Regions from separate parts of the Homo sapiens genome. Here region 1 is linked to region 2. The links are contacts of gene promoters, found by promoter capture Hi-C in human tissues and cell types (Jung and others, 2019). All regions are on one chromosome and are shown on one strand. Each heading gives the region's core, a stretch centred on a gene start or on the middle of the fragment in contact. The rest is flanking DNA. Distances are from core to core; before and after follow the strand shown. Region 1 overlaps BTLA (B and T lymphocyte associated). Region 2 holds the start of TAGLN3 (transgelin 3).

Region 1 (2,859 bases), core at 84-2,583, 490 kb before region 2:
TGCTTAACCTATTGACCCATCCTCTAAGTTCCCTCTCCTCTCCCCCTACTCCCCAACAGGCTCTGGTTTGTGTTATTCCCCTCTCTGTGTCCATATATTCTCATTTTCAACTTCCACTTATGAGTGAGAACATGCAGTGTTTGGTTTTCTGTTCCTGTGTTAGTTTGCTTAGGATGATGGCTTCCAGCTTCATCCATGTCCCTGCAAAGGGCATGATCTCATTCTTTTTTATGGCTGCATAGTATTCCACGGTGTATATGTACCATATTTTCTTTTTCCAGTCTATCATTGATGGGCATTTGGGTTGGTTCCGTGTCTTTGCTATTGTAAATAGTGCTGCAATAAACATACGTGTGCATGTGTCTTTATAGTAGAATGATTTATATTCCTTTGAGTATATACCCAGTAACGGGATTGCTGGGTCAAATGGTATTTCTGGTTCTAGATCGAGGAATTGCCATACTGTCTTCCACAATGGTTGAACTAATTTACACTCCCACCAACCGTGTAAAAGCATTCCTAATTCTCCACAGACTTGCCAGCACCTATTGTTTCCTGACTTTTTAATAATCACCATTCTGACTGGCGTGAGATGTTATCTCCTTGTGGTTTTGATTTACATTTCTCTGACCATCAGTGATGTTGAGCTTTTATTCTTATGTTTGTTGGTGGCATAAATGTCTTCTTTTTTTTTTTGAGATAGAGTGTCGCTCTGTCGCCCAGGCTGGAGTGCAGTGGCGCAATCTCCGCTCACTGCAAGCTCTGCCTCCCGGGCTCATGCCATTCTCCTAACTCAGCCTCCCGAGTAGCTGGGACTACAGGCGGCTGCCACCACGCCTGGCTAATTTTTTGTATTTTTAGTACAGAAGGTTTCACCGTGTTAGTCAGGATGGTCTTGATCTCCTGACCTCATGATCCACCTGTCTCGGCCTCCCAAAGTGCTGGGATTACAGGCGTGAGCCACCGCGCCCAGCCAGTGTCTTCTTTTGAGAAGTGTCTGTTTAGGCTGGGTGTAGTGGCTCTCGCCTGTAATCCCAGCACTTCAGGAAGCTGAGGAGGGCGGGTCATTTGAGGTCAGGAGTTCAAGAGCAGTCTGGCCAGCATAGTGAAACCCTGTCTGTACTAAAAATACAAAAATTAGCTGGGCGTGGTGGGACACGCCTGTAAGACCAGCTACTTGGGAGGCTGAGGCAGAATTGCTTGAACCCAGGAGACTGAAGTTGCAGTGAGCCAGGTTGCACCACTGCACTCCAGCTGGGTAACAGAGTGAGACTCTGTCTCCAAAAAAAAACAGAGAGAACTGTGTGTTCATATCCTTTGCCCACTTTTTGATGCGGTTGTTTGTTTTTTTCTTGTAAACTTATTTAAGTTTCTTGTAAATTCTGGATATTAGGCCTTTTTCAGATGGGTAGATTGCAAAAATTTTCTCCCATTCTGTAGGTTGCCTTTTTGCTCTGATGAGAGTTTCTTTTGCTGTGCAGAAGTTCTTCAGTTTGTTGCAATTGCTTTTGGCATTTATGTCATGAAGACTTTGTGAGAAAAATGCCAAAAGCATTATCTACTCTTATCCTTGGTCACCAAGAAAAGCTAATAGTGCTTGAGAATCATGCGCTTGAGTTGTATTGTGTCAGTGAATTGTATCATATGCGATTTGCTTCACTTTTCTAATACTCTCCATTCTCTTACCTCAAAATAAGCTCAATATTTTGTACCTTTCTGGTATACTCTCATGGTTATGGACCTGATTTACATGTTTATCTCAATGGAAGAAGTGGCTTGTGTGCAGCATGTGTCTGTGTGTATGCATGCAGAGGTGTCATACAATTTGAGATTCACTTAGAACAGAGTCCAGAAGAGTGTTAGATCAGTCCCAGGAAAACATCAAGTTTAGCTGGCAGAGCTCTTTAATTTCTTTTTTCTGCCTTCTTGATAACCATGTTCATCTTATAAGCACAACCTGGAACTCACACACATCACAAATGGCCTATTATCCAGTATTTGGCTACAAGGGAGGCTGGGGCATTGAGATTTTTATCTGGGGGGTTATGGCCCCACTTCATTTTCCTCTATAATATTAGAAGATGAGAATTAATATTGGAAGACATTTAGCAGATTCTGTCCACATAAGTATTGTTTAGTATCTTCAAGGGCTTTGAAAATGCCAGTGAATCTCAGTGTGATGTCTGTGGTAGAATGTATTAGAGATGTGAGGAAGTATCTGGGAAGAAAGTAGAGATGGACTTTCCCTTTCCAATCATAATACATAAGCCACACTTAATCTGAACATCACAAGTAACAATCCTTCCACTGAAGTCAATATTTAGAAATACTCATGTTGGTTTCTGATCAAATGCCAGAGGCACTCACTGATGCTACTGTCAACAGCTTCTCAGGTATGCTGTCTACATTTGCTGCCCTATGTTTCTTCCTGAAATCCCTGTGACAAAGGTGGAAAATTTAGCCTCTCTGAAGGACAGGGCCTATGTGTAACAGGCAATCAAAGTCTCTCTAAATCATTGTTCTTTAGGACTCATTAAGTTGACTAGAAGCTTTTACTATTCAAGGGCGATAATTACATGTTGACCAACTAAAACCACCAGAAACTCATCCTTGTTACACAGAGTAGACAGGGCTCTAAGGAGTGCAATGCATATGAATCCTCTGGCCTAGAGAAGCAAAGTCAGTGACCAGTAGGGTAGATCTGCAAGGGGACATTTGTGACTTGGCAGAGATGTAATGAAGAAGTCCTGAAAGCAAGCTTAGAAAATTATCAAAGGACAAAGTTTTTTTCAATATTCTAGTTTTGACCAAGGCAAGCCTTGCTGGTTAATATATTTCTGTAGAGTTTCCTCTCCCACA
Region 2 (2,875 bases), core at 1-2,500:
GTTTGAATCACAGAGCCTGCGGCCCTCAAACCCTCAAACACACACGAGCATTTGGTCAGAAATGCAGTTAACAAATAAGGACTCCTTTCAGTTTCATGAGAACGCATCCACTCAATAAACAGACACTGAACACTTCCAGGGTGCATGGCTCCCACAAGAATGTGAAGGTGGCTAGTCCCCCTCCTCCCTTCTTTGTTTTACTGTGTAACCAACACGATCCCCTAGGGAAAGAAATGGCCCCAGAAGAGCTGATGCACCAGGAAGGCTGGGGAAATTACAAGGACATACTTATCTCTATTCTCATTAGAAAAATCAAAAGGGCTTCGAATTTGCCAACTCAGAAGGGAGATGTAATGCTAGGGTGAGTGGAGAACCCCCAAGCTAGCTAGGGAATAGTGCATGGAGCCCAAATCTTCCAACCCTGAAGAAATAAAGGCATTCTCATCCCCTCCCGGTGAGACATAGAGCTTGGCAACAGCAGCTCTTCCCGCAGCCTTACGTTAAAAGAAAGGGCCCTGGAGGGTTTCCCTGCCCACCGCCCCAGCAACCGAGATCGCTGCCGGCCTTACCGTCCCGTCCATTAACCATTTCTGAAAATGGGCCCTGCCGGGGGGCGGGTGCTCTATGTCCTCGGCGCACTGCAGGATGATCCAGTCCACCAGCTTGTTCTCCAGGTCCGCATCATACTTCTGCTCGATCTTCTCCTGCACCTCTCGGCTTAAGCCATAGCTCGGGCCCCTGTTAGCCATCTCTGGAAAGAAGAGAAGACACGCGCGGCATCCACACAATAGCAGCAGCAGCAGCCTCCGGCTCCCTGCAGACGGGGCTGGGATATGGCTGGGCAACCTGGCCCAGCAGCAGCAAAGAGGGCAGAAAGCCGGGCGTGGTTTAAATCAAGGAGCCAATGAAGCCAATGGGGTTTCACCTACAAACGGGAAAGAAAAGCACAGCTACCCGCCAGTAACTCTAGAATAAACCTCCGGCCGGTCCAGGGGGGCTGGAATCCCCCTCCCTATCCCGCCTATCAATGAGACCAGATGATATAACACGGACTCACAATCAAGTCTGAACCCCCAGGCAGCAAGGGGGATGGGTGGCGGACGTTTCTTCCCCCTTCTCAGTAGCACTTTGCAAAGGCAGAAACGATGAGATCGGGAAGAGCAGGTAATTAGCAGGCAGGGAGGAAGCCTCCTTTCATGTTGAACTGCAGCCGCTGCTGCCTCGCGCCTGGAAGAATGGCACATTGATTTGATTTTCTCATGGCTGAGGGGGCTCAACCAGGGCCGTTGCTAAGAGCCCTCCAAAAAGCCAGCCCTCTCCTGTGTCAATCAAGCCCGCCTGCCTCCCTCCCGCTGAGAGCCTCTTTCTCATCTGCACAATTCTTTCCCTCTTCTGGGGAGACAGCCGATTGTCTACGAGGCCAGCAGCTGCACAAGGGGATGAGGGCCTGTGGGAGGGTCCGTTCTACCAACTGTCCATCTGTCGGGAATAGCCAAGCTACTTTCCCCCTGCCCTGAGGTAACAACTGTCTGGCAGGACAGGAGGGGAGGGACTGAGAGCTGCTATCATTTACTTGTTCAGCTGCCAGCCCAACTTCACCCAGAAACTTCCATCCTGAAACTGTTGTGCCTCAGTTTGACTTATTCAAGGGAGGTATTTTTTTCATGCTACTCTTAACTGAAAGACACTAAGAACAAGTTTTATAAATTATTATTATAATTCTTACTATATATTTTTAGACAGAGTCTCGCTCTGTTGCCCAGGCTGGAGTGCAGTGGCACAATCTCGGCTGGCTGCAACCTCTGCCTCCTGGGTTCAAGCGATTCTCCTGCCTCAGCCTCCCAGGTAGCTAGGATTACAGGTGTGTGCCACCAGGCCTGGCTAATTTTTGTATTTTTAGTGGAGATGGGGTTTTGCCACGTTGGTCAGGCTGGTCTTGAACTCCTGACCTCAGGTGATCTGACTGCCTCGGCCTCCCAAAGTTCTGGGATTACAGGCATGAGCCACCACGCCCGGCAAGTTTTATAAATTAAACAAAACTCAACGACTAAGAACTCTTAGAGTGAAAGGTTTTGATAGAATGTAAAGACTTCATCTGAAGTAAGGACCGTGAAGGCACAACCGACATATTGTCAGAAGTAACTGAATATTTCTCATGGGCAAACAAGCACTCAGGAGAAACCATTAGCTCTAAGTTGGCCCCACATTTTTATAACAGCTAAAGGGCTTGGCAGTTTGTCCTCCTAGACTGTAAGCCATTTGTGGGTAAAGATTGAGTCTCATTGGTGTTGTGTAATTCTCTGGGTGTTTTTCATGAGAAAAATTCCACATTTTTTTTCGTTTGGTTCATTTCTTCATTCAACAGATATTTACTGAGTGTTTATGCCAACTACTGGACTGAGGAGGAATAAAATACAATTCTTGCATTGAAAACAGATTGATAAATTGACTCAAGCATATTAAATAAAGCAATTCTGGGTACATGGGATGATGATCTTTGTCCCTGTGGGAAATTGATTAGAAGCTATGCAGGAAATGACTCCTCAAATAATACATGTATTGAGAAAAATCTCCTACCGGCTGATGCCTGGACTAATGAAAATTTAATTACTTAGGAGATATGTGGGTGGTTTGCCTGAAAAAGACTTAGCGGTCAGTCGTTGAAGGCCTGGCAGACAGTCCTCTGAAAACAGAAAACTAGGAGATTCAGGAGAGCAGTAGGTTTAGGAAGAGACAAGGGAAGGGCTGACTAAGGCAGGTCTTGATGCTGCATGGAATCATCAGTTGAAGAAGCTCAAAAGACAGCAGCACTGTGTTGGGACACTTGGAGCTTAGGGGAAGAGCTTAGAGCAGGGAAATTGACAGAAGAATTATG

The links. Contacts are between HindIII fragments. The study calls those that stand out against the background at their distance.
Region 1: a contact is called between a fragment that was not itself captured here and the fragment with the promoter of TAGLN3 in region 2, in 1 of the 25 tissues and cell types used here (aorta).

The regions. Positions count from the first base shown.
Region 1 is chr3:112,491,947-112,494,805 of GRCh38, reverse strand. The region is part of intron 1 of BTLA (B and T lymphocyte associated); the gene reads left to right. Among named protein-coding and RNA genes, the nearest start is that of BTLA, 6.1 kb to the left of the region's middle. RefSeq lists a silencer at 2,633-2,682. The HindIII fragment of the contact is 3,782 bases long and covers 1-2,859 here.
Region 2 is chr3:111,997,297-112,000,171 of GRCh38, reverse strand. TAGLN3 (transgelin 3) reads right to left here and starts at 1,250. Exons shown (of 5, transcript NM_001008272.2): 1 at 1,058-1,250; 2 at 570-751. The coding sequence starts at 749. The HindIII fragment of the contact is 6,637 bases long and covers 1-2,875 here.